Linked DNA regions of Homo sapiens: all the other regions are linked to region 1. The links are contacts of gene promoters, found by promoter capture Hi-C in blood cells and fetal thymus (Javierre and others, 2016). All regions are on one chromosome and are shown on one strand. The core of a region is centred on a gene start or on the middle of the fragment in contact, and the rest is flanking DNA. Distances in the headings are between cores, read along the strand shown.

Region 1 (4,418 bases), core at 496-2,995:
TTGGCTATGGTAGTTTCAGTCCAGTGGGTGGGATGGAGACCAACGACCAAGTGTTCCTGCAAGGAGAGCCTCCCACAGCTGTCACCATGCTCCAACTCCCACACAAACGCTTCTACCCCTTCCAGAACTTACCCATCATCCCCCCATGGATCCTTTCAGTAAAAACCCTTTCAATTTCCAAAATATCACTGCCTAAGTGTTTCAGGGTGCAGGGGCAAGGGATCCTCTTCTTGGCCCCCATGAGGGCCCACCTATCACTGCCATCGTGGTTGCCAGGAGTGAGAGGTGCTGGGATAGCAGAAGGCGGCCTCTGGTTGGTATGCACGGCTCATCTTCCAGATGGGAAAACCGAGGCTCAGTATGGACAAGAGACCTGCCCAAGGTCATGGCCAGAGAGAAAAGTTCCTGCTCTACCAATAAATCATAACTAATAGCATGATACATTTATTAAGCACCTACTGTATACCTTGACTGCTACATGCTGGATCTCACTCCATATTCCAGATGGGGAAACCAAGGCTGCAGGAGGTGAAGGTCCTGGTCTGAGATCATTCCCCCGCTCAGTCCCCAAGGCATGGCTGAGCTAAGAGATGGAGCCCCAGCCTGTTGGACCACAGAAACCACAACTCTGCCTCTCCTATCTGGTCGGGTTGGGCTCATTTTAGGGGAAACTGAGTCCTGGAAGGAAGCCAAGGTGTTAGGAGAAAGACTCACTGTTTGCTATTGTTTGATTTTTTGAAATTGGGTGAAAGGCCAGGTTTAGGGGCGACTTGGGCCTGGAGTAAGTCAGGGACCTTGACCAGATGTCCCTTTTCCTTTTCTTTCTTTCTTTTTCTTTTTCTTTTTTTTTTTTTTTTTTGAGACGGAGTTTTCACTCTTGTTGCCCCGGCTGATATGCAATGGCACGATCTTGGCTCACCACAACCTCCACCTCCTGGGTTCAAGCAATTCTCCTGCCTCAGCCCCCTGAGTAGCTGGGATTACAGGCATGTGCCACCACACCTGGCTAATTTTGTATTTTTAGTAGAGACAGAGTTTCTCCATGTTGGTCAGGTTGGCCTCGCACTCCTGACCTCAGGTGATCCTCCCATCTTGGCCTCACAAAGTGCTGGGATTACAGACGTGAGCCACCGCGCCCGGCCTAGATGTCCCTTTTTCTTGCCCCTCCCAACCCCTACCGGAGATCTACTGTATGTCTAGCTACTGGATCTTCACCAAAGAGTCAGCAGCAGGCTCAGAGAGGCCAACTGTCTCCTCCAAGGTCTCACAGCCAGTGAGGGGCAGACTTGAATTGGGGCCTGTGGCTCCAGTCCACAGCAGAGTGTGACTATCGTGAGGCCCCCACCCTGCACAGGGAGCGCCTTTGGGGTGCTGGAGACCAGGACTCCACTATGACTACCCAATGGACAGGTGGCCTGCAGGCCAAATGATCTCTTTCACCAGATCCCCCAGGTCCCCTGCCAAAGCACAGTAACCAAGATAGAAGACTCAGCCCCCTCCTCCATTTCAAAGATGGTTAAACTGAGGCTCAGAGAGGTTCTTCCCTGGCCTAAGTTCAGCTAGCAGGGTGAGGGAACTAGCTCTGCACTCCAAGTCCAGAGCGCTTCTTTCTCCGCCCGCGCTCCAGCCACTGCTCCAGGGGAGCGTGGGCCCCCGCGGCCCCTTTAATACACCCCGCCTCGCCCGCCTTCCTCCTCCCCTTGCAGGCAGACGCCGGGATTGCGCCGCCTGCAGGGACCTGCCCAGTCTTAACCGGGTGTGCGGGGAGCGCAGTCCGGGTGCGTAGGGGCCGCTCGGCGGGGGCCGCGCGGGCAAGATGGTAAGTGGGGCTGCGGGCGCGGGTGGTGTGTGCCCCGTCTCCCCAATCTTGGATTCTATATCTCTCTGCCTCTGAATCTATATCCCTCTGAGTTTCTTCTGTCTCTTCCTTTTCTCTGTCTCTCACCCTCTTTGATCTCTCTTTTTGGCACTCTAGGTTCTCTCCCTCTCCATTTCTCCCTGCCTCTCTCCATCTCTGTCATCCTCTCTGCCTTTTTCCTCTCCTCTCCGTTTCTGTCTTTCCCTGTCCCTATCTCTCCCTCCTCTTCTCTGAGTCTCTCTGCCTCTGGCACTCTCCTGTCTCTCCCTCTCCCTTTCTGTCTCTCCCTCTCCCTCTCTGTCGCTCCCTCTGCCTCTCTGTCTCTCCCTCTGCCTCTCTGTCTCCCTCTGCCTCTCTGTCTCTCCCTCTCCATCTGTGTCTCTCCCTCTCCATCTCTGTCTCTTCCTCTGCCTCTCTCTCTCTCCCTCTGCTTCTCTGTCTCTTCCTCTCTGTCTCTCCCTTTCCATCTCTGTCTTTCCCTCTCCATCTCTGTATCTTCCTCTGCCCCTCTGTCTCTCCCTCTGCCTCTCTGTCTCTCCCTCTCCATCTCTGTCTCTCCCTCTACATCTGTCTCTTCTTTTCCATCTGTCTCTCCCTCTCCATCTCTGCCTCTCTCTCTTCCCTTCCCCTTTTTCTGTGTCGCGCACTCTCTTCTCTGCCTCTCCCTGCCTTTCTCTCTGTCCCTGTTCTCTCCCCGCGTCTCTCCCTCTTTCTCTCCAGCTCTCCCCCCTCCCTGCCCGCCCCGGCCCGGTTTGCTGCAGTCTCCTGGCGCACGGATAACCTTGCTGCCGCCGCTCCTCCAGCTCTTCCCCACCCCCCTATCCCCGGCCCGGGCCAGGGCCAGAAGGGGGCGGGGCAGCGAGCCTCGGGTTTTGGGGTGGGGGGGAATGAGGCGGGATCTGGGGCAGGACTGAGGGCGGGGGGGAGTCTAGGGGCGTGGGTTCTTGCAGAAGCTAGGATGTGAGGTCCCAAGAGGAGGAGGGGGAGTTCTCCAGGACCCCGGAAAGGGTGGGGACATGGGCGTGAGAGAGGTCCTCGCTGTGGGGAAGGCAGGCCCGGGAGGGAGCCAGGCCTCCGAAAAGCCAAGGCTGGGAGGCTGGACTGAGCGCCCCGTGCCCGCCCCCCAGGTGTGCGCTCGGGCGGCCCTCGGTCCCGGCGCGCTCTGGGCCGCGGCCTGGGGCGTCCTGCTGCTCACAGCCCCTGCGGGGGCGCAGCGTGGCCGGAAGAAGGTCGTGCACGTGCTGGGTGAGTCAGGGCCGCTAAAAGTGGTCTTCTCCGCGAAAAGCAGAAGTGGCCAAGTGCGGAGAGGGGTAGCGGGTAGGGCGTTCCTGACGTCCGCGGTTCCCCCAGCCACTCCCCATCTGAGCCCCTCGCCCTCTCCCTGAGCCCCTGGACCCTTCTGATTCCCCGACCCCCACCCGAGTCTTCCCACGTTCCCCTCCCCAGAGACACCTTCCCCAGAGGCCCCCTTCTGCCCCTAGGCCCCTCCTCTGAACCCTGCTTGGTTGTCCTCAGAGGGTGAGTCGGGCTCGGTAGTGGTACAGACAGCGCCTGGGCAGGTGGTAAGCCACCGTGGTGGCACCATCGTCTTGCCCTGCCGCTACCACTATGAGGCAGCCGCCCACGGTCACGACGGCGTCCGGCTCAAGTGGACAAAGGTGGTGGACCCGCTGGCCTTCACCGACGTCTTCGTGGCACTAGGCCCCCAGCACCGGGCATTCGGCAGCTACCGTGGGCGGGCTGAGCTGCAGGGCGACGGGCCTGGGGATGCCTCCCTGGTCCTCCGCAACGTCACGCTGCAAGACTACGGGCGCTATGAGTGCGAAGTCACCAATGAGCTGGAAGATGACGCTGGCATGGTCAAGCTGGACCTGGAAGGTGATCAGCCGGTGGGGAGGATAAACCTTGCTTCTGAGGAAGGAGGGGGGCGGGGATGGCAAGGGACATAAACCAAATCAAGTTGGCCTGCAGGCATTTAGAAGGTTGGTTGGGGTAGAGCCCCCATATCTGGTTCTGGGTGATTTTCCTCCCCAGGGACATTGGCGATGTCTGGAGATATTTTACGTTGTCACATCTGGAGAAGGCAGTTGCTACTAGCCCCTAGTGGGTAGAGGCCAGGGATGCAGCTATACATCCTACCAGGCACAGGATAGTCCCCCACAAGGAGTGATCCAGGCCGGGCATGGTGGCTCACGACTGTAATCCCAGCACTTTGGGAGGTTGAGGCAGGCGGATCACCTGAGGTCAGGAGTTCAAGACCAGCCTGGCCAACATGCCAAAACCCCATCTCTAGTAAAAATACAAAAATTAGCCAGGCATGGTGGTGCATTCCTGTAATTCTAGCTACTTGGGAGGCTGAGGCAGGAAAATCTCTTGAACCCGGGAGGTGGAGGTTGCGGTGAGTGGAGATCGTGCCACTGCACTCCAGCCTGGGCGACAGAGCGAGACTCCATCTCAAAAATAAATAAATAAATACATAAATAAAATAAAATAAAAGTGATCCAGTCCAAAATGTCCACAATGAGGACACTGAGAAGTCCTGGGATAGGATTCAGGCACA
Region 2 (4,418 bases), core at 511-3,010, 240 kb before region 1:
GGATGAGGTCAGGACGGCCATAGCTGTGGGAGGTTCCAAGGGCACTTGGCCATTCCAAACCCTACCCCCAACCTCCCCTACAACAGGCGAGGTGTGAACTCTGAGATCTCCCCAGCCCTGTCTACAGAGCAGCTGACAGAGGGAACCGTTTCCAGGTGCTGTTGGAGGTTCATGTCACAGGTAACAGGGGACAGTTACAATCAGTTGGGCTGGGGGCTCCCACATTCTGACGGCTTGCAGGAACCTGATCCTGGTAGGGCTCTCGGGACCAGGACCCAGGCAGTGCCTGGTTTAAGAGGGTGTGCTTTGCTGTGGGTAGAACACCCTTAACATTAATCAATAGCTATCCTGGTGCGTCCAAACCCCACACCCAGAGAGGTACTTAATAATGCCTTCACCTGGAACATCATAAACGTCATAATACAACAACCCGCTTGGGGCTTATCGTAGAGGTTATGCTGCAAGGAACTGAAAGGAAATAATGGGCTAGAGTGTTCGAGACAGCAGAAATGAAGGAAAGATTAAGGCATCTCACACTTTTGCCCCCTGGGGGGAAAAAAAAAAAGTTTACATCACAGTATGTACGTTGTCCCTGATGGAATGCTCCCTGGGGACATGGGGCCGACCCTCTCCCTTTCGAGGGGCAGCAGTCCATATGAACTCACAAGGATGGGTTGACAGCCATCAGCCCTGGAGGAACAGCCAGGCCAGGCTGGGAGAGGTCAGGAGCTGGAGCTGGGGCTGGGGGCCGGCAGGTGCGGCTCGGATCTGGCCCCCTGGTCAGACCCAGCTGACCCAAGCTGGAGCAGGCAGAGGTGACTTCGGTCTGGATGCCTGATCCCCAGCCACTGCATAGAACTGAGGTTGGTTCGCTGGGGAGGGCTTTCAGTGGGAAGAAGCCAGCCTGGGTGCTCCTTCTGGGAGGAGCTGGAAGATCTGGCCCCTGTCATGGAACAGAGAGGGCTAACAGCTCAGGGTCGTAGGAGACAGGTATTTATTTGCCAGGCACACAGAAAAATGCGAGGAATAGAAATGCTTGCATACTCTTGATTTTTTTTTTTTTTTTTGGTGTAAAAAACACACCCTCCCCTCCCACCCCAAAAAACATCAAATTCCTTCCTTTTCCCCAAATCCCTGGATCTTGGAATGAAAGCCACCCTTCCCCAATCTGTCCTCACCTCCTTCAGCCCATCCAAGTTATGCACAAAAAAACAAAAATTAGTGAGAAATTTGGGGATTTGCACAACAAAAAATTAGATAATGTTTTCCAAAACTAGGTCTTCTATGCTGTGTCAAAAAAAGTTTCCTACAGACTGAGGATATTCACACGACAGGAGCCTGGGGGTTAAATGAGCCTTTATTAGAATGTTGTAGCAGTTGTGTTTGAAGGCGGTGGCCCTACAAAAAAAAAATTAAATTAAAGTCCCTAACTGCATGGGTAGGAAAACCAGGGCTGGAGCTCAATTGGAACCAGTGGAGCCCAGAACTCATGGAGACATACGTATGTACGTGGGCACGGGACGCCCTCGCACTGGCATGAAGCCGGCCCAGCCTGCAAGAGACACGGAACGGCTTCTGCCTTTCCTCACGGAACCAGTTTTTAAAGAGTGGGACGGGAAAGAAACAAAAATGAAACTAAAAGCAGACCTGATCCTTTTAAAAACATTTTTGTAGACTCTAAAGGGAATTACAAAAAAAAAAAAAGTCTGAAAGCAAATCCTGACAGCAACCCCTAGGTTTAAGGACAGGTTCTAAACTAGACCCAAACGGAAATCCTGACATCTGTGCGCAGCGGCTCGCCGCACACCTGGACGGCACCTCCTGACCTGCACACACCTGTGCACGCTCACCTCCCAGGAGCAAGGCCAGGGTGGCTTAAGATTGCGTCCATCGAAATGAATAGAAAAAAGGAAAAAATTTAATAAAATAAACCACAACAGAAAAACCCCGCGACAGTCCCCCCTCCAGCTTTCTGCTCAGGGCTGCTGCCGACCGGATCCTCTCCTTCTCCCTTAATGGGCAGCTTCTGGAATCCCTGCTTCTCTGGCTGGGTCTGTTCTTCAGTTTGTTCTTCTGCTAAGTCTGGAAGGTGCGGGGGCGGGGGTCTCCAGAACAAGCAGCAATGGAGGCGTTCAGCTGGAGCGAGGGCTGCCTCGGCCATCCCTGCATCTGTCAGTCAGTCACGGGGGCGGGCCGGCCGTCCCTGCCAGGGGCTGTGGCACCATGAGCCGCCCACCCTCCAGGGCACAGGGCCAGCGGGATGATGCAGCGTACAACAGGGACCCCAGGGTCTGCACGGTTTACTTTTAACTCCATCATCATGAGGTGATTAAAAAAAAAAAAAATCTTTCAACTTATAGATCGCCATGGGAAGGCAGTCAAAGACTGGGAGCCTAAGACAGGGAAAAGCAAAAAAATGAAACACCCCGCTCGGTTCAGAAGCCCCGGGCGCTGGCCTTGCCCATGCGCATCACAGTGTCCAGGGTGAGCCGCCCGTGTGCCGGCAGGGGCTGAACAAGGGGGCCAGGAGCAGAACCAGCCCCCAAGGTCCACTTTTCTGCTGGTGTCGGGCAAACTAAAGGCAAAGAGAGAAAGGAAGAAAGCCCACGGGAAAGGTCCCCCAGCGATGATCCTCGTCTGCCTATGAGGCGGCACCAGCCCCCTAGCCCTGATGAAACTTTGCAGCCAAGAATTGAGGTCTTGCCTCTGCAGCATGGCCGGTGCTTGCTCTTGGGGCGGGCACGGTGTCTTCCCGAGCCAGCGGAGGGTGGTGCAGTGGGTCCTTCTAGACCAGGGGCCAGGTGGGGGAGGAGGGAGCCCGTCTTCCACGGGGCCTGGCTCGCACTATTTCCACGTGGCTGACTGGGGGATGGAGCGGGGTGGGATCATGTCCAGGAGGTACTCTCGCTGGCGGTCCACGGCCGAGGAGCTCTTGTGCACCGCCAGGCTTGGGCTGACAAACGCAAGGGTCCCGCCTGCAACAGAACAGAGCGACCAGCTGAGAAGGCCCTCGTCAGGAGGGCTCCTGGGAGGAGCCCAGCCATAGCTGCCTAGACCCCAGCCCCAATACAGACTAAGGACCCAGGAGCCCTTGCAAACCCACCCACACTACTCCTCAATCAACGTTTCAAATCCCAGGCCCCCCCAGAGCTGAAGAGTATTTAGGCAGCAACTCAATGGCCTTGACATTGCCAGGCTCTGCCAAGGTAATCCCAAGTGTGGGGCAATCATCAGAGGGTGAGCAGCTACCTACGTTCTACAGAAATGAAGGTGCTGACCACGGTGCTGCTTAGAACAGTGGAAAACCATAAACAAATGTGTGCAACAGGACAATAATGCAGGATGGAATACTATGCAGCAATGAAAAACTATCTTAGCTGGGCACGGAGGCTCAGCCTAGAATCCCAGCACTTTGAGAGGCTGGGGGGTGGGAAGACTGCTTGAGGCCAGGAGATAGAGACCAGCCTGGGCAACATAGTGAGGCCCCATCTCTAAAAAAAATATCAGCTGGACATGGTGGCACATCCCTGTAGTCCCAGTTACTCCAGAGGCTGAGGTGGGAGGATTGCTTGGGCCTAGGAGATCCAGGCTGCAAGAGAGCTATGATCGCGCTACTGCATTCCAGCCTGGGCAACATAGCAAGAAGCTTCTCCAAAAGAAGAAAAAAAAAAAAAAAAAGGAAAAAAAAACTATCTCCTACCCTCAAGTGTTGTTGTTGTTGTTTACTGGTCTCAAACTCCAGGCCTCAAGCAATCCTCCTACCTCGGCCTGTCAAAGCACTGGGATTATAGGCACGAGCCACTGTGCCCAGCTCAAATTTTAATGCGTCCAGTAAGGGTCTCTCATTAACACACAAAGTAGCCAACGCAAGACACACATTTCCACAAAGGACCCTCAAGTGAAGGGGAGACACTGGGGAAAACCCTTAAATGTAATATTTGTTCACCTGGGGGAGGAAAATACAAGCCATTGCCACAGTCTTTTCTCTCTGTATTTTCCAAATTTCCATGATGGACAAATATCATTTTTATAATTGGAAAATAAATAAATGCCCCCACCCAGCACACGCAGAATTTTTGGCCAGAGTTGGAGGTAAGGGCTGCCCCAGACCCCTTGAGATGGGGTCTCACTCTTGCCAAGGCTGGAGTGCAGTGGCACAATCAGTGCTCACTGCAGCCTCAACCTCCCATGCTCAAGCGATCCTCCTCCCTCAGCCTCCTGGCTGAGTAGCTGGGACCACAGACACATGCCATGTGCTTGGCTAATTATTTTTTTGTAGACACAAGGTCTCACCATGTTGCCCAGGCTGGTCTCAAACTCCTAGGCTCAAGCAATCCTCCCATCTCGGCCTCACAAAGTGCTGGGATTACAGGTGAGAGCCAGCATGTCTGGCCCTAAGAGTATTTTTAGTGGTGGCT
Region 3 (4,418 bases), core at 737-3,236, 230 kb after region 1:
GGCCAGGCATGGTGGCTCATGCCTGTAATACCAGCACTTTGGGAGGCCAAGGCAGGCAGATCACCTGAGGTCAGGAGTTCAAGACCAACATGGCGAAACCCCGTCTCTACTAAATATACAAAAATTAGTGGGGCGCCTGTAATCCCAGCTACTCGGGAGGCTGAGGCAGGAGAATGGCTTGAACCAGGGAGGTGGAGGTTGCAGTGAGACAAGATCACGCCATCGCACTCCAGCCTGGGCAACAAGAGCAAGACTTCGTCTCAAAAAATAAATAAATAAACAAACAAGTAAAACCCAGTATAGGCATACCCTGGAAACCAGGGGTAGGTATCAACACTTAGATGACCCACTAACCTTGGGCAGTACCTTCCACTCTGACAGGTGGGAACAAGACATAGAGTTAAGTAAGATAAAACTCTTGGTAAAAACACCAAATCCCTTTGCAATTCTGTTTCAAACCTGTAGCTCAGCAGTCCCAACCTTTTTAGCCTAAGGGACCAGTTTCGTGGAAGACAATTTTTCCATGGATATGGTGGGGCTAGGGTGGGGATGGTTTCAGGATTGTTCAAGCTCATTACATTTATTGTGCACTTTATTTCTATTATTGTTACATTGTAATATAATAATTATACTATTCACTGTAATGTAGGATCAGTGGGAGCCCTGAGCTTGTTGTCTGGCAACTAGACAGTCCCATCTGGGGGTGATGGGAGATAGTGACAGATCATCAGGCATTAGATTTTCATAAGGAGTGCCCAACCTAAATCGCTTGCATGTGCAGTTCACAGTAGGGTTCGTGCTCCTATAATTTAATGCTGCTGATCTGACAGGAGGTAGAGCTCAGGCATAATGCAAGTGATGGGGAGTTGCTGTAAATACAGATGAAGCTTCACTCGCTCACCCTACGCTTGCCTCCTGCTGTGCAGCCCAGGTCCTAACAGGCCAGGGACCACTGGACCAGTATGGGTCTGTGACCCAGGAATTGGGGACCCCTGCTGTAGATGATCTTAACCAGAAGGTCTTGACAGGGTACGAGTGAACCTAACATTTGCCACCGTCCCTTTGGAACAAAAGGAGGAACAGGCCTTAGGTCCAGAGCCTAACAGAGGTTAACAACTTTTTAAATTTTAATTGTTTCAATATATCCACCTTGCTTATTGCAGTAATATCAAGTTTCCGTTCTGGAATTATCAAGTTTCCACTTCAGGCCAGGCATGGTGGCCTGCACTTTGGGAGGCCGAGGCGGAAGGATCACATGAGGCCAGGAGTTTGAGACCAGCCTGGACACGTGGCGAAACTCCATCTCTATAAAAAATACCAAAATTAGCCAGGTGTGGGAGCATGCACCTGTAGTTACAGCTATTTGGGAGGCTGAGGTGGGAGCCCAGGGAGGTCAAGGCTGCAGTGAGCTGAGATCATATCCCTGAACTCCAGCCTGGGTGACAAAGTAAGACCTTGTCTCAAAAAAAAAAAAAAAGGAAAAAGAAACAGGTCACTCTGGCCCATGCTTCTCTTTTCAGGCAGTGGCATGGGATATACACATTCCATCTGTGTTCCTGCAGATGCCCACCATGGACTGCACACTGCCTGACGGGAGAAGGACTGGCTCGCAGCCAGCCTGCAGAACCCAGTTCCCATGCCCTCCACTTCAATGCCCTTTTCTTTTTTTTTTGAGACAGAGTCTCGCTCTGTCGCCCAGGTTGGAATGCAGTGGCACGATCTTGGCTCACCACAACCTCTGCCTCCTGGGTTCAAGCGATTCTTGTGCCTCAGCCTCCAAGTAGCTGAGACTACAGGCCCACGCCACCACGCCCAGCTAATTTTCGTATTTTTAGTAGAGACAGGGTTTCACCATGTTGGCCAGGCTAGTCTCGAACTCCTGACCTCAGGTGACCCACCTGCCTCGGCCTCCCATCATGCTGGGATTACAGGCATGAGCCACCACGCCCAGCCAGATACACTTTTCTTCAATTCCCTCATGTGTCAAACAGAGATAAACACGAATCTACTTCATAGGGCAGTAGTGAAAAATTCAGCCAACTCCTATACCTTCCTCAGAACAGGATATGGACAGGCTCAATAAATTAGCTATTTGTTCCTTTCCTTTGTTGCTTAAGAGGCAATTCAGCAAGTTTATGCAGGAGTCCCATCTCACTCTTTTGCAGATAGGCCCCTCTCCTTTCTGCCCCAGAAGAAAAGGGAGCTCTTTAAGGGCTGCTATGGATTTCCAAGGTTAAAGGTGAAGGAAGAGTAATATAAAGAGTTTCTCAGTAGGGAGTAAGGAGTAGGGGACTCCACTCCCACCACCCCGGCCAGGCCAGGAAATTCCTTGTGGCCCTCAAGATCTTTACCTGAAAACAATTTTGTTGAATGTCACCCTGGCAATGTAAATTGACAGGTGATCTTCACAAGTGCAGGACAGAAAGTCATCACCTGAGACAAATGCATATCCAGTTGCTCTCTCTGCCCTAACGTTTATGTAAAAATGCAGATTTGGCCTGGCTCCGTGGCTCATGCCTGTAATCCCAGCATTTTGGGAGGCTGACACCGGTGGATCACCTGAGGTCAGGAATTCGAGACCAGCCTGACCAACATGGCGAAACCCCGTCTCTACTAAAAATATAAAAATTAACTGGGCGTGGTAGTGGGCGCCTGTAATCCTAGCTACTCAGGAGGCTGAGGCAAGAGAATTGCTTGAACCCGGGAGGTGGAGGTTGCAGTGAGCCAAGATTGCGCCATTGCACTCCAGCCTGGGCGACAGAGCGAGACTCTATCTCAAAAAATAAAACAAAAAACAAGAAACAAAACCTCAGATTCATGAGTCGGACTGAGGCATAAATGACTATTCCTCTACCTGCCCTGTACCCCATATAAATCGTGTATTCTGTGAAAGGCTGACCAAAGACTCAAAAGAAAGCAATCATTTGTCTCTACCTGTGACCATCTTACACATATTCATTTATATCTCACGTCTCCCTAAAATGTATAAAAGCAAGCTGTGCCCCAACCACCTTGGGTACATGTTGTCAGGACCTCCTGAGGCTGTGTCACAGACATGTCCTTAACCTTGGCAAAATAAGCTTTCTAACTGATTGACACCTGTCTCAAATACTTCGGATTCTCAGTCCTCTGTGGAGCTTCTGCCAGCCCTTCCAGGTGGCTGCCTTTCCTGGCCACTCAGAGAGCCCACACTCTCTGGCTTCACTCCCCAACCCACAACCCCTCCCTTCCACCCACCCCTGAGCTGACTGAGTTGGGAAGGTCTGGCTCTGTGACCACCCCTGACCTGAGTCCTCCAAGGTCCCCTAGATCTGGTACAGGGCTGAGTTGGAGGAGGAAAGTACAGATTTGGAACACATAAGATGGTGCCTGGAGATGGCCAAGTAAGAATTACCTGGAGAACAGCCTAGGCTAAAAGGGGGAAGCAGCATTACCAGTCCCTATTATCCATCAGGGCATGCTGAGGGTAAAACAGAAGATGAGTAAGGCCCCTAACTGGCAGCCAGTTTCCTTCTCTCAGCCAGGAATCTGCTCATCAAGAAAACTGTGCTGTCCAGGTGCGGTGGCTCAGGCCTATAATCCCAGCGCTTTGGGAGTCTGAGGCGGGTAGATCACTTGAGGTCAGGAGTTTGAGAACAGCCTGGCCAACATAGCAAAATCCTGTCTCTACTGAAAATACAAAAAATTAGCCAGGGCCGGGCACGGTGGCTCACGCCTGTAATCCCAGCACTTTGGGAGGCCGAAGCGGGCGGATCATGAGGTCAGGAGATCAAGACCATCCTGGCTAACACGGTGAAACCCCGTCTCTACTAAAAAAATACAAAAAAACTAGCCGGGCGTGGTGGCGGGTGCCTGTATTTCCAGCTACTCGGGAGGCTGAGGCAGGAGAATGGCCTGAACCCAGGAGACGGAGCTTGCAGTGAGCTGAGATTGCGCCACTGCACTCCAGCCTGGGTGACAGAACGAGACTCCGTCTCAAAAAAAAAAAAAAAGGCCAGGCAAGATAGTGCACACCGGTAATCCCAGCTACTCAGGAGGCTGAGGCAGGAGATCGCTTGAACTCCTTTTGACTCCGTTTCAAAAAAAAAAAAAATACAAAATTTAGCCAGGTGCGGTGTTGCGCACCTGTAGTCCCAGCTACTCGGGAGGCTGAGGCAGGGGAAGCCCTTGAACCCGGGAGGTGGAGGTTGCAGTGAGTCAAGATCATGCCACTACACTCTAGCCTGGGCGACAGAGAAAGACTCCGTCTCAAAAGAAAATTAAACGTGTGCCATGACATGCTGGGGACTCTAAAAGACTCCATCCACATGTCCCTCTACCAGCCACACCCACTCTGGTTCAAACACCAGCCTCCCCTAAGGGCGGCGTCACCTGCCACTCCCAGAGCCTAGACTCCACCTCACTCACGTGCTCAAAGC
Region 4 (4,418 bases), core at 645-3,144, 210 kb after region 1:
AGGGAGGTGTGGACAGGGTGTCCCACACTCAGAACTCAGACCAGCAGCCCAAGGAGGGGGCAGAAACCTTTCTGAAACCCCAGGCAGATCCCCATCCACGCTTCCCCAACTTCTTTCTCCCCAGATCTCTCTATAGGGACTTTTAAAAAAGGAGATTAAGGGTGCGGTGGCTCACACCTGTAATCCCAGCACTTTGGGAGGTGGAGGTGGGTGGATCACCTGAAGTCAGGAGTTCGAGACCAGCCTGGCTAACATGGCAAAACCTTGTCTCTACTAAAAATACAAAAATTAGCTGGGCGTGGTGGCCCATGCCTGTGATCCCAGCTACTCGGGAGACTGAGACAGGAGAATCGCTTGAACCCAGGAGGCAGAGGTTGCAGTGAGCTGAGATGGCGCCACTGCACTCCAGCCTGGGCGACAGAGTGAGACTGTCTCAAAAAAAAAAAAAAAAAACCCACAGAAGGAGATTACGTGTTATAGCTTTCTTTCCAGGGTTTCACCAGAAAGCCCCTCCAAACTACCCCCTCCCCAAAAAAGGAGAGTAAATGCAGAAAAAACAAAGGCAGAGAAGGAGGCAAATGAAGGCAGAATTCAGCACATTTTGCAAGATGAGAAAGAAGTTGGCCCTATGGGGCTCGGCTGTGGGAGGGACAGGGACAGGGATAGGGATAGGGACTGAGCCTTTGCCCCATCACCCACCCGCACACCGCACCTGCTCCCATGCCCTCTCTGCACCTACCTGCACATCCCACACCAGCCTGCCTGCCCCCATCCCCTGCCCTGCCCACCTGCACGCCGGCCTTCTGCGGGTGTGCCTTCATGGCCTGCAGTGCTGCCACAGCCCCGCCACCCTCCACGATGATGCGGCTGTTGTCGGGCTTACGCAGGGCCAGGAAGCACAGGGCCGCGCAGCTCTGCTCACACACCTGCAGGGGCCAGTCACAGAAAGGCTGAGATGCAGCAGATAGACCCCCCACAACATCCTGCCATGGCCACCAACCCCTGGTGAACACCCTGCGGCCTCCCCTCCGTGGGTCTCTGGCAACTCCTGTGTAATAATGGCAGGGTGACAAAAATATCAGCTCAGCTCTTAGGGGTGACAAGGGCAATAGGCCTGGTCAGATCTTTGCAGGGTGCTGGTGGTAACTCCAGGACACCCAAAGTCATGCATACGCAGGTCAGCATTTGAGAGCCAATGCCCACGACCCTCACCAGCCCTGCCCTGGCCCTGCAGGGGAATAGAGCTTCATGCAGATACAGAAACTGAACTGGGACTCCAGCCACCACCCTGCTACTGTGTGTGCCCCCCGAGGTGGGTACCTGGGGGCTGGTCAGATGCTGGGTCATAGCAGCCACGATGGACTCCGTCCCACCAGCACGGACAATAGCATCTTTCACGTCGTCGTTGCCTGCGATGGCTCGCAGGGTGCTCAGCACTTGCTTCACGAGCTCCTGCACAAGGGAAAGGCCCGCTCACCTCCAGCCAGGCCGCTGGTTGTGGGAGAGGGCTCTGAGGGAGAATGTGGGGCTGTTTTGCTGTTTGACCAACAGGTATGGTGTGACTGCAGGGTGTGACTAACGAGAAGGGGTGGCAGATGCCTGTGGCTCAGGCTGCCTGTGTCCAAACGGTACCATCCAGGTGACTTGATCCCCTACCCCGACAGGGGCAGCGGGGGCATGTGACTCAGGCCGGCCTTCAGAGCACAGGGTCCCCCTGTCCACGGCCACAGACCCAGGGTAGGCGCTAACTGCCCTGCACTGAGGACAGTGGATGAGGTGCTACTGGGACTGCTGATCCCCCGATGGAGAACCTGAGGACCCTGCCCCCAACTGCCCAGGAGTACAGGGCAAAATGTATCCCTTCATTTGCTGAAGTTGGTTCCCATTCAGCTCCTGGCCACTTGCACAGAAAGAGGCTGGCTGACGTCAACAGCTGGGCTTGGGGGCGCAGGACCGTGGCACCCCTGGGGGCTTTCCTGCAGCTGCAGCTGGATAGGGAGGCACCTGTTGATTGGCTCCCTGCTGTGGATGGGCACATGGAGAAGGGCTCAATAATCGGCTGCTAAACGGAGTAATGAGTAGGGACACTGCTCTATTCTGTAGCTAGGGAAACTGAGGCAGAGGTGCGGGAACTAACCCAAGTATCCCAGCCTTGGCCGACACACCCCAACCCTATGCTTCCTACCATCCTTTTCCTGGTGCAAAAGGACAATAAGGGAGAGCAGGTGGGTTTGTTTCCCCCCCGACCTTTGGTTCCTGCCCTTGGGTCCGTGAAAAGAAAAACTGCACTTTGGTTCCGACACTGGCAGGCAGGGCTGGCTTGTTCTGACTATAGCTCGTCCGGTTGACTGGGACCCAGAAGGACAGCACGCAATGGGCCAGGGGGACTTCATACCTGAACGCCGCTCTGGTCCCTCATCTGGTGGTCATTGCAGTCGGCTAGCAGGGACACCAGAATGCTCAGGCCCCCGAGGTCGACGACCTCCTGGCAGAACTCGTTGCGAATGGCCAGGCGGGACAGGGTTCCACAGAGCTCGCTCAGGATGCCAGGGTTATCCAGGAACGCTGCAGGGAGAAAGGGAGACGGTGGTGGGGGCGGGAAGAACCAGCCGCAGGGCCCTCTGTTTTGGTGGAGATCCTGCTCCACTGGAAGAGTCCAGCCCTTCTGCCTATTGGAGTGGCCACGGGCACCAGGAAGGCCCCAGGGAACACCAGGGGCTACCTGGGCCTGCAGTGCCCCCTGCTGGCTGCTGGGAAGACTTAAGAATGTGCCCCCCAACCCGCTTCCTTCCATCATGCCCCAAATAAATTCCATACCAACTCATGGTCTCACCTAAAAAAAGAAAACTATAATAGTGCAAAAAAAAAAAAAGACATCTGAAGACTATTTTTATGATCATGGGGTAGGAATGGCTTCTCTAAGTGCAACAGGAAACTCCAGAACCATAGAGGGACACATACGGACTGGGCTGACGTGGCCAAAACTGAACACAGGAGCCGCAGATGGAGCCCAGAGGCGCTGCACCAGGAAGCAGGTGCCGGCACTCACGCCAAGAGGGCGAAGATCCTGCACCTACACAGGGCTGCGACGGTCAGTTCCTGTGACCACCTGTAGCCCTCTGCAGTTCCACCCAATGCCAATCTAGGTGTTGCCGTGGAGGTATTCTGTCCACATGGTTACCATCCACAATCAGCTATCTATTATTATTATTATTATTATTAATTTTTTTGAGACAGAGTCTCGCTTTGTCACCAAGGCTGGAGTGCAGTGGCGTGATCTTGGCTCACCACAATTTCTCCTTCCTAGGCTCAAGAGATCCTTGTGCCTCAGCCTCTCAAGTAACTGGGATTACAGGTGCCCACCACCACGCCCAGCAATTTTTGTATTTTTAGTAGAAACAGGGTTTCATCATGTTGCCCAGGCTGGTCTTGAACTCCTGGGCCCAAACAATCCTTCTACCTCAGCCTCCCAAAGTGCTGACATTACAGGCATGAGCCACCATGCCCAGCCCAGTTGCCTTTAAGTAGAGGAGATGACCTTGAACAATGTGAATGGGACTCATTCCATCAGCTGAAGTCCTTAGAAGGAAACTGAGGTGTTTCCCCGAAAAGGGGACTGCCTGGGGGTTTCCAGCCTGCCCTATGGAGTACAGACTTGCCATAATTGCATGATCCCATTCCTTACCAAAAAGTCTCTTCATATATACATATCCTGTCTCTGGCAGAAACCTAACTGATTGGAGCTCCTATAAATAAAACAGGAAAGATGTGAGCTACCTCCTGGAAAAGCAGCCTGACTTTGCAGAAGGTCGGGACTCATTTTCAGCCTTGCTGGAGGTGTGGAAGGGAGACTGAGGTGGGCCCATCTCCTCAGCAGACAGAGCCAGAACCCCCACACAGGCCTGGCCACAGAACCAGAGTGACGGGGCAGGCAAGAAAGGGGAACTCATCCTCCTAACACCTTCTGTGTGTCAATCAGGACTTTTCTGGTGGGTTCAGTGGATGGGATGGGGGTAGGGGTTAAGACAGAAGCTTTAGGGTCTGACGGTCAGCACTGTGACCTCCCAGGGCTGGCTCACCATGGTCACCCTGGAGCCAGACACATGAATATGCCTAAGGATTTGTGGCTGAATATGATCAAGCGTGTACACATCCAGCTGAGACTGCCATGGTGCATGCCAGCCAGCCCCCCCGAGTCCTCTTATTTCCCTCTGGGGAGGTCCCCCTTCCCCACTCTCAGCCCCTGGAGTTGGACACAGCAAGCCCCTTCCCCAGACAGCTCCAGAGATGGGATTGTGGCCTGCTCCTGGCCCCTGAGTGCTGGCCTGGAATTCTCCTGGAGCCACTAGAAAACATGGGGAGACTCTTCACGAGGGCTGCCATGCAGGCAGGTCTAAGCCGAGGGGCGAGTGGAGCCT
Region 5 (4,418 bases), core at 653-3,152, 170 kb after region 1:
CCCTCAACTGCATTCCGCAGCCACGGTCCTGTGTGTACTGCTTAATCATTTACAAAAGCCTTTCTTGTTGGTACTGGAATGTAATCCTCACAAACAGTCTGTTCTTTTTCCAAATCTGGTGCCCAGGGAGCAAACAGGCTCAGAGAAGTTAAGCAGCCAGCCAAGGTCACACAGCTACCAGCGGGTTGTGGGGCCAGCGTGGCCGAGGTGCTCAGTGCCAACACCACTGTCAGGCCAAACATCCAGTGGGCACCGAGGTGCTCGGTGCCAATACCACTGTCAGGCCAAACGTCCAGTGGGCTTGTGTCAGCTCGGACCCGAGGGTCTCTGTCCACCAAAATACTTTATTTTTTATTTATTTATTTTTTTGAGACGGAGTCTCACTCTGTCACCCAGGCTGGAGTGCAGTGGCACGATCTTGGCTCACTGCAACCTCCACCTCCTAGGTTTAAGCAATTCTTGTGCTTCAGCCTCCCAAGTAGCTGGGACTACAGGCGCCTGCTACCACACCCAGCTAATTTTTTATTTTTAGTAGAGATGGGGTTTCACCATGTTGGCCAGGCTAGTCTCGAACTCCTGACCTCAGGTGATCTGCCTGCCTTAGCCTCCCAAAGTGCTGGGATTACAGGCATGAGCCACCGCACCTGGCCTTTTTTTTTTCCCCCACCCAGGCTCAAGTGCAGTAGAACAATCATAGCTCACTGCAGCCTCAAATTCCTGAGCCCAAGTGATCCTCCCACTTGGTCAGCTAAGGGTGTTTTTTTTTGTTTTTGTTTTTGCTTTGACAGAATCTCCCTCTGTAGCCCAGGCTGGAATGCAGTGGCATGATCTCGGTTCACTGCAGCCTCCGCCTTCCAGGTTCAAGTAATTCTTGTGCCTCAGCCTCTCAAGTACCTGGGATTACAGACGTTTACTACCAAACCCAGCTATTTTTTATTTTTTTATTTTTAGTAGAGCTAGGGTTTTGCCATGTTGGCCAGGCTGGTTTTGAATTCCTGGCCTCGTGTGATCCTCCTAACGTGGCCTCCCAAAGTGCTGGGATTACAAGCATGAGCCACCGCGTCCGACTGGGTTGGCTAATTTTTATTTTTCATTTTATATTTTGTAGAGACAGTGACTCACTATGTTGCCCAGGCTGGTCTGGAACTCCTGGGCTCAAGCGATCCTCTGGCCTCAGCCTCCCAAAATGCTGGGATTCCAGGCATGGCCACCGTGCCTGGTTAGTTCCCACGCTTTAAAATCATCCAGTAAATGAAAACGCATTACTGCAAAGTGAAGCAAAGGGTGCAGAGGCCCCAGAGCAGGCATCAGTGCCGGTGAGTGACGCTGTACAAAGTGCACTTGGGATTCTGCTACACCAGCCTCCACTGCTGACTCTCCTAGTGAACATGGACCCATGGGCACTGGCTCTGGGAGAAACACCTGCTTCAAAGATGGGGCCAGAGAGAAAGGAAGAGCCTAGAGCACGTACGTGGAGGTGCCAGTCATGGAGGGCATGTTCAGAAACAGAAACCAAAGCAGATGGGTGTGGCGAGGGGGTCATGGGCACCCACCGAAAGAACCCTTGATGGCCAAAGCTGGAACAGTTTGAGTAGAAATGGAAAAAAACATAAAGCATCATGGATGAAAGCCTGAACTATAAAATAACCATGAGTCCATATAATATAAAGAAATGACAGAGTAAGTAAGTACATGGTAGGGAAGAGACAAATCTCCCAGGCAAAGGATTCCCAAATAGCACAGCAGCTCGGACCTCCAAGAGGGGCCATGCCTCCTGCCCTCAGGTGTGGCTGCGCTTAGCGGCTTCTTTCCAAAGAGTGCAGTCTGGAAAGGGGGCTGTCAGTGACTGCAGCACAGAAACCTGATGGATCCCAGCTGGGCTAGGTGATCCAGGACAACGCTGGCTGGGATAAGTCAGGTGGACGCATGTGCCTCTGATGGAGTGTGACGACTAGGGTCTTCCTCCCCCAGATCCATCACCCCATCTGACCGTGAGAAAAACATCAGGCTGGGCGCAGTGGCTCACGCCTGTAATCCCAGCACTTTGGGAGGCTGAGGCGGGCAGATCACGAGCTCAGGAGTTTAAGACCAGCCTGGCCAACCTGGCAAAATCCTGTCTCTACTAAAAATACAAAAATTGGCCAGGCATGGTGGCAGGCACCTGTAATCTCAGCTACTCAGGAGGCTGAGTCAGAAGAATCACTTGAACCCAGGAGGTGGAGGGTGCAGTGAGCCGAGATCACGCCACTGCATTCCAGCCTGGGTGACACAGCGAGACTCTGTCTCGAAAGAAAGGAAAAAACACCAGACACATCCCACCGGAGGGGCATTCTCCAGCAGCCCTGACCACTGCTCCCCAAAACTGTAACGGTCACCAAAAACAAAGAGCCTGAGAAACCGTCTCAGCCCAGAGGAGTCTAAGGAGATGTGAGGACTAAAGATCAGGTGGGATCCTTGGACAGAGAAAGGACATTCAGGAAAAATGGAAGAACGTGAATAAAGTGTGGAGCTCCATTAATATTAATACCATCTCAGCACTTGTTCATTAGTGAGGCAAATGCAGCACAGCACTGTGAGAGGTTATGCGTAAGGGACGCTAGATGTGTGCGGTGTCGGGGAACTTGGTACAGCCTTTGCAATTTTTCTGTAAATCTAAAACTGCTCTCAGCTGGGCGTGGTGGCACGCACCTGGAATCCCAGCACTTTGAGAGGCTGAGGTAGGAGGATCGCTTGAGCCCAGGAGTTTGAGACAAGCCTGGGCAACATAGTGAGACCCCGTCTCTAGAGAAAAAAATTAGTTGGATATGATGGCATGCACCTGTGGTCCCAGGTACTCGAGAGGCTGAGGTGAGAAGGTCACCTGAGCCAAAGAGGTTGAGGCTTCAATGAGCCGTGATTTCAGCAGTACACTCCAGCGCAGGTGACAGAGCAAGACTGGGTCTCAAAAAATAAAAATAAACTAAACTGCTTGCAAACAGACAGAAACCAGGTCCTAAAGACCTTTCCCAGCCGGTTGCTGGGGGTCGGCATCTTTCATCATCAGCCCATGGGATGCACTGCGTCTGTTTCACTCCGCCCCCCACAACAATCAGCCATGTCTGACTACTGCCCAGCACCACCCCTGCCGCTACAGACCCTGGGGGCTGTCCTTGCACTTGGGCGCTTGGGTGAGAACGGCGCAGCCTCTCTACTCCTTGATTCCTAGAATCGAGGTGCTGGGTCAGGTGGCCTGGACATGTTCTGCAAAGTCACCTTCCCCAGAAAGGATTCAGCCATTTGCTATACCCCAACAGTGGGTGAGGTGCCCGAGGCCTGGGTCCTGGCCGAAGGGGGTCCCTCCCACCCTCCTGTGGGCTCTTGCTCTGAGCTCCTCAGGAGGTCACAGTCCTGTGAGGAACAGTCTCCCCAGAAGGGCATTGTGGCCTCAGACCCTCCCTTGGCTGCACCTGCCCAGCCTCTGTGAACAAGAAGAGCCACCAGACAGGGCTGCCTGCAGTGCCCATGGTACCATCCTTCACTGGATCACCTGCCCAGGGCCAGGGCTCAGCCTCGAGTGGCACCCACAGACATAGACAAAGTCACTGCACAACCTGGCTGGAACTACACAAGTGTGCTAGGCCCTGCAGGTGACAGAGCACTGAGGGCAGCTGGGGCTGGGGGACGTAACTGGAGGGGGTGGAACGATGGCCCCTGAAAGATACACCCTGCCCCCAGAACCTGTGAATGTGACGCTTTTAGGAAAAAGGGTCTGTGCAGATGTGATTAAGGCAAGATCTCTAGATGAGGGTTAGGGTGGGCCCTAAGTGCAATGACTGGTGTCCTTGTAAGAGACAGAGTAGGAGACACAGACACAGTGGGGAGGGTTGAGGATGAGGCCTGGAGCACGGTGGGCCACCACAGCCAGTGCATGATCCCACAGCACAAGAGCGGCCTGCTTCTGTTCCAGCTGCCTCATCCCTTGGTGAGGCCAAGGAGGGAGTCCCAGCACCACCAGCACCCGCCACCCTCCCTGTCTCAAGAGGAAGAGGGCCCCAGGGCACCAATGCCTGCAACCATCAGAGACACAGGTTTTCATGACATTCTTTTTGTTGTTGCTGCTGTTTTATAGTCAGGGTCTTGCTCTGTTGCCCAGGCTTGGGTGCAGTGGCATAATCATAGCTCACTATAGCCTCGACCTCCTGGTCTCAAGTGATCCTCCCACCTCAGCCTCCTGAATAGCTGGGATTATAGGCTCATGCCACCAGACCTGGCTAAGTTTTTAATTTTCTGTAGAGACAGGGTCTCCTTATGTTGCCCAGGCTGGTCTTGAACTCCTGGGCTCAAGTGGTCCTCCTGCCTCAGCCTCCCAAAGCGCTGGGATTCCAGGTGGGAGCCACCGCACCCGGCCATAACATTCTTCTGTTTCCACTGTACTTAAT
Region 6 (4,418 bases), core at 925-3,424, 150 kb after region 1:
CCTTTGTGGGTGGCCACATATATCCTGAAAGGGATGAGTGTATGCACAGAATCTCTGTGGGAGGAGACAAGAGAAAATGGTCACAGGAGGCCCCCTGCAGAGGGAACTGTTCACCTACTTTTCACTGTAAACCCTTGTGGACAGCTGGTGTTTTCTGGAAAATTGTGGTATGTATTAATTCAAACAACAATTGCATTTAAAAACTTCTTTATTCAAGACTTTTATTCAGAACTTTTATCACAAATGTGTCAAAAGCACTTCAACCCTGTTTGGGGGTTCATGGGGGAAGATGGGGGGGCGGTCAGAGCCAAAGAAGAGCCAGGAGCAGGAGAAGAAGTCATTTAAGTTTTTATTAAATATACTCTCTTGGCACAAATCTTTAAAATATATAAACATTAGATATAAACAGTGTCTTCATGGCATCAAAATATAACTCCAGACCAAGACCAGTGACCAGCAGGGAGGCGAGTGACCGCAGAGCCTGAGGGCCTGGCTGTGTGCAGGGGTGGGGGACAGCACTGTCCCCAACTCCTGCCGGGTCCCACTCAGCTAGGAGCCATCTCCGGGGAGACACACTGGGGTCAGCAGGGACTGGGGGACCCTCCCACCTACCCCTTGTCTCTCCTGCCTAGCCTGTGGCCCCAAATCCACTCATTTGGTCTCACCCACCTGGGGCAGACCCCCAATTCCTACTGCTGTTGCATGCTTGTGGGAGTTGGGTGCCCTCCCATCTCCCTGTGAGGGTTGCCCTGCCTCTCCTGCCAAGTTTAAGTGCTGGGTAAGGGATACCCACACAGTGGGACAGCCCCTCACAGCCATCACAGGCTGCCTGGGCCTCTGGGGACAAGATCAGGGATGGCTGGTGGCCACATGCAAGGAAGGCAGAGAGAGCGGTCTGCACACCTGCAGGTCCAAGGCAAGAACAGGAGGAGGACAGAAGGAAGGGAAATGAAGTCACGACTGGAGATGAACAAGCTCAGATCCCTTCACACAGCGTGTGCTGAGCCAGCTGTCGAAAGCAACACTCACGGTCACGCTCACCCTGGCACCAGGCAGACCAGTCAGGGGTTCGATGTGAATAGATCATAGACCCGGGGTCAGCCAAGTTGAAAACCAAAACAAAACAAACAAAAAAAAGAAATCAAGAAACTCACCATGTCATTAGGAAATGGGTGTTTCTGAGTCCCTGTGATAGCTGGCGGGCCCTGGGGGACTCCTCTGAGAGACCAGTTAGCTGGGGGTTCCCCTGGGTACCTCAGATTTTCCTCACCTCCCACCCCCAAGCTATACTCTATCATGAGGCTCCCACTTCGGGGGATTGAGGCTAGCAGGCACCCCATGCTCCATTTCATAGAAACTGAACAACCCCTGTGGGCTTTAAATTGCTCCATATCCCAGCCAAGTGCCTGCTCAAGTGGGGACCCAAGGACCTGCTGGATACCACAGCTGGGCAGAGGGTTGGGGCACTGAGATGCTAGGCCTGGGGGGCTTCTGGGCCAAAGGAGGTGGTTTGTGTGCTCACATTTCAGCAGATGCCCCAGGATGCAGGTCTGACCCAAACCTGAGGCAGTTCCGTGTCATGGCCTGGGCCTCGAGCCCTGCTGTGCAGAGCAAGCATGAATCTCCTGGGAAGGTTACAAAGCAGGTGGGCATGGGCAGGCAACTCTAGGGGGAGATGCACTCTTGGGGACCCAGCTGCTTGCAGGGTCTAGGATAGACATGAGGCTCTGGGGGACACTGTTCCCAGCAGGAGGCTCTAGTGACTGAGGAGTCGTGGCCATGTGGGAAATACTGGAGAAGGCAGGGCCGGCAGGGTGGGGTGGGCCAGGGGCTGCATTTGTGGCCAAAGCTGAGCACGAGGCTGGCCCCATCCTGGGCAGGGTCCGCCTGCAAGAAAGGCGCCCCCGCACCCTGGAGGCCGGGCAGGCACGTGGAGTCAGAACAAGAAGGTCCAGGCGCGGTCTGGCTCTGAGCCTGGTGGGGACAGGGGTCACTAGAATCAGCAGCATGTCGGAGGACACACAGGATCAGGAGGTGGAGCTGACCACGCCCCACTAGGGCCTTTTGGGCAACACCTCCGGCAGACAGCGCCAGCGTCTGCAGAGGAAGGAAGAGGGGAGCTGCGGGACCCCCCACACCATCGCCCCAACACTGCACTTCCAGGGCTGCCAGCTTTGCGTTTGGACGTGGACTCTGAGCCCAGGCCCCTCAGGCCCACCTGCTCGTTCCATAAAGCGCCCCATGTGCCTCCTGAAGTAGAATCAAGCGCACCCCCCCACCGTTCCATGGGCCCAGAATACAAAGGGGTCACCGGTCCACCGTCCTGAGAGCAGCTCAGGGTCCCCTAGCTCTGCAGGTGCCGCAGCAGGATCTGCATGAGGTCGAAGGTGGTGAAGCTGATGCCCACGGCGATGGGACCCTTGACCCAGTTCATGCTCAAGCCTTTGTAGAGGCCGCGCACGGCGCCCTCCTCCCGCACGATGGTGCGCAGCGTGCGGGCGATGGAGGCGCGCGGGTAGCCCGTGACGCCGGCCGTCTGCATGCGCCGCCGCACCACATCCAGCGGGTACGAGGCCGACTGCCCGATGAGGCCAGCGCAGGCGCCGAAGATCATGCGCTCGAAGGGGTAGGGCTGCCGGCGGCCGCTGTACTCTGCAGGGCGAGGGGCGGGAGGGCCGTGAAGGCGCCGCGAGGGGGCGCGCACCCCGCACCCGTGCGCGCGCCTTTGCACCCCTAGGAGCAACCTGCGTGCACATACACACATGCACTTGCACCCCCACGTGTGTTCGCACTCATGCGCACCCACACGCCCCACTGCCTCACCTCCGGGTCGCTCCTTTCACTCAAACTCGAGAAATAAAAAAAATTTTTTTTTTGGAGATGTAATTTCACTCTTGTTGCCCAGGCTGGAGGGCAATGGCCCAATCTCGGCTCACTGCACCCTCCGCCTCCCGGGTTCAAGCAATTCTGTCTCAGCCTCCAAAGTAGCTGGGAATACAGGCATGCACCACCACGCCTGGCTAATGTTGTATTTTTAGTAGAGACAGGGTTTCTCCATGTTGGTCAGGCTGGTCTCAAACTCCTGACCTCAGGCGATCTGCCTGCCTCGGCCTCCCAAAGTGCTGGGATTACAGACATGAGCCACCGAGCCCGGCCGAGAAATAAAATTTCTTAAAAGGCAGAAACACAGAGAATCATAGAACCAACTCCTAGAGCCACTGCTCACATCTAATCAGCTCTACTCCACGTCTAGTAAAGGAACATTCTAGGTGCTCCCGTGCCTGGTCCCCGACCTGCGCCCTCCCTGGGGAGCCCCTGCGAGCTGTTGCACAGAGTGGACATAAGTGACCATGAACTTCACCCTGCTCTGTCTTGCGGGTCTAAACGGGGTGTGTGGGTGTGGAGGAGGAAGGAGCAGCAACAGGTCAGTAGGGGTACTTTAAACATTTGTAATAGTAAATTTAGAACTAGGAATTTAAAACAGCCAAGGCTGGGTGCAGTGACTCACGCCTGTAATCTCAGCACTTTGGGAGGCCAAGGCAGGCGGATCACTTGAGCCCAGGAATTGGAGACCAGCCTGGCCAACATGGAGAAACCCTGTCTCTACCAAAAACACACAAAAATTAGCCAGGTGTGGTGGTGGGCGCCTGTAATCCCAGCTACTAGGGAGGCTGAGGCAGGAGAATGGCTTGAACCCAGGAAGTGGAGGTTGCAGTGAGCTGAGATCGTTCCACTGCACTCCAGCCTGGGCGGCAGAGTGAGACTCCGTCTCAAAAAAACAGCCAGACAGGAGACACTGTGATCTGCTCACCAGGTGGGCAAAAACAAGGGGTCTGATGGCATCACGTGGGGTGAGAACGTGGGGTCAAGGGGCTGGAAAGCACTCCAGAGAGAAACACCGAAAATGGGGTTTTACAGTCACACAAGGAGACGAGCTCCTGGATGTCGGCTGATCACAGAAAACCTGGCAACAGCCAAAGGGCACCCCAAGAAGGTAAGGCCCACTGTGCAGCCACTAAAAAGGCGGAACAGAGCACAGATGCTGGTGGATGCACCCCAAACCAGCTGAGCTGGGAGCTGCACTCCCGGGTGAGCTGACTCCACTTGGAGCATTTTTTATACCTGTGAAAGGTGACATGGTTTTGTTCATGCCACAGATAAATACATACAGAAGTATTTTCAAAGCAGTCTTGAGGGGTGCAACCCTCACTTCTAATAAGAGGCCTCAGGAGAGAGACTTGGGCCCTCAGCGTTACCCCTAACATTTTATTTCTTTGACAAAAAATGTCTGGGAGTGGGCTGAGTGCAGCGGCTCACACCTTTAATCCCAGCACTTTGGGAGGCCAAGGCAGGAGGATCGCTTGAGCCCAGGAGTTTGAGACCAACTTGGGCAACAGAGGGAGACCCCATCTCTACAA

Evidence for each region. Contacts are between HindIII fragments. The CHiCAGO score rates a contact against its expected background, and 5 or more counts as called.
Region 2: a contact is called between a fragment that was not itself captured here and the fragment with the promoter of HAPLN4 in region 1, in 3 of 17 cell types (monocytes, erythroblasts and M1 macrophages). The highest score is 6.0, in monocytes.
Region 3: a contact is called between a fragment that was not itself captured here and the fragment with the promoter of HAPLN4 in region 1, in 2 of 17 cell types (M1 macrophages and M0 macrophages). The highest score is 10.7, in M1 macrophages.
Region 4: a contact is called between a fragment that was not itself captured here and the fragment with the promoter of HAPLN4 in region 1, in 5 of 17 cell types (M1 macrophages, M0 macrophages, M2 macrophages and 2 more). The highest score is 12.6, in M1 macrophages.
Region 5: a contact is called between a fragment that was not itself captured here and the fragment with the promoter of HAPLN4 in region 1, in 4 of 17 cell types (M1 macrophages, M0 macrophages, M2 macrophages and 1 more). The highest score is 10.7, in M1 macrophages.
Region 6: a fragment that was not itself captured here is called in contact with the fragment with the promoter of HAPLN4 in region 1 in 5 of 17 cell types (M1 macrophages, M0 macrophages, M2 macrophages and 2 more); the score reaches 11.2 in M1 macrophages.

What each region holds. Positions count from the first base shown.
Region 1 is chr19:19,260,131-19,264,548 of GRCh38, reverse strand. It overlaps HAPLN4 (hyaluronan and proteoglycan link protein 4), which reads left to right and starts at 1,745. Exons shown (of 5, transcript NM_023002.3): 1 at 1,745-1,819; 2 at 2,986-3,103; 3 at 3,374-3,736. The coding sequence starts at 1,817. TM6SF2 (transmembrane 6 superfamily member 2) reads left to right here. Exons shown (of 10, transcript NM_001001524.3): 10 at 1-183. The HindIII fragment of the contact is 10,345 bases long and covers 1-4,418 here.
Region 2 is chr19:19,503,901-19,508,318 of GRCh38, reverse strand. GATAD2A (GATA zinc finger domain containing 2A) reads right to left here. Exons shown (of 12, transcript NM_001384528.1): 12 at 1-2,975. The coding sequence ends at 2,845. Among named protein-coding and RNA genes, the nearest start is that of TSSK6, 9.4 kb to the left of the region's middle. RefSeq lists an enhancer at 2,826-3,326. The HindIII fragment of the contact is 3,777 bases long and covers 1-3,648 here.
Region 3 is chr19:19,034,439-19,038,856 of GRCh38, reverse strand. The region is part of intron 2 of ARMC6 (armadillo repeat containing 6); the gene reads right to left. Among named protein-coding and RNA genes, the nearest start is that of ARMC6, 3.0 kb to the right of the region's middle. The HindIII fragment of the contact is 2,193 bases long and covers 890-3,082 here.
Region 4 is chr19:19,052,299-19,056,716 of GRCh38, reverse strand. It overlaps ARMC6 (armadillo repeat containing 6), which reads right to left. Exons shown (of 9, transcript NM_001199196.2): 6 at 2,396-2,565; 7 at 1,321-1,452; 8 at 789-926. Among named protein-coding and RNA genes, the nearest start is that of SLC25A42, 9.5 kb to the left of the region's middle. RefSeq lists an enhancer at 2,638-2,697. The HindIII fragment of the contact is 4,281 bases long and covers 1-4,034 here.
Region 5 is chr19:19,091,564-19,095,981 of GRCh38, reverse strand. All of the region lies in intron 1 of SLC25A42 (solute carrier family 25 member 42), which reads right to left. Among named protein-coding and RNA genes, the nearest start is that of SLC25A42, 30 kb to the right of the region's middle. RefSeq lists an enhancer at 705-1,204. The HindIII fragment of the contact is 6,803 bases long and covers 1-4,418 here.
Region 6 is chr19:19,108,803-19,113,220 of GRCh38, reverse strand. SLC25A42 (solute carrier family 25 member 42) reads right to left here. Exons shown (of 8, transcript NM_178526.5): 8 at 191-2,652. The coding sequence ends at 2,345. Among named protein-coding and RNA genes, the nearest start is that of TMEM161A, 27 kb to the left of the region's middle. RefSeq lists an enhancer at 1-261 and a silencer at 2,601-2,790. The HindIII fragment of the contact is 6,628 bases long and covers 1-4,418 here.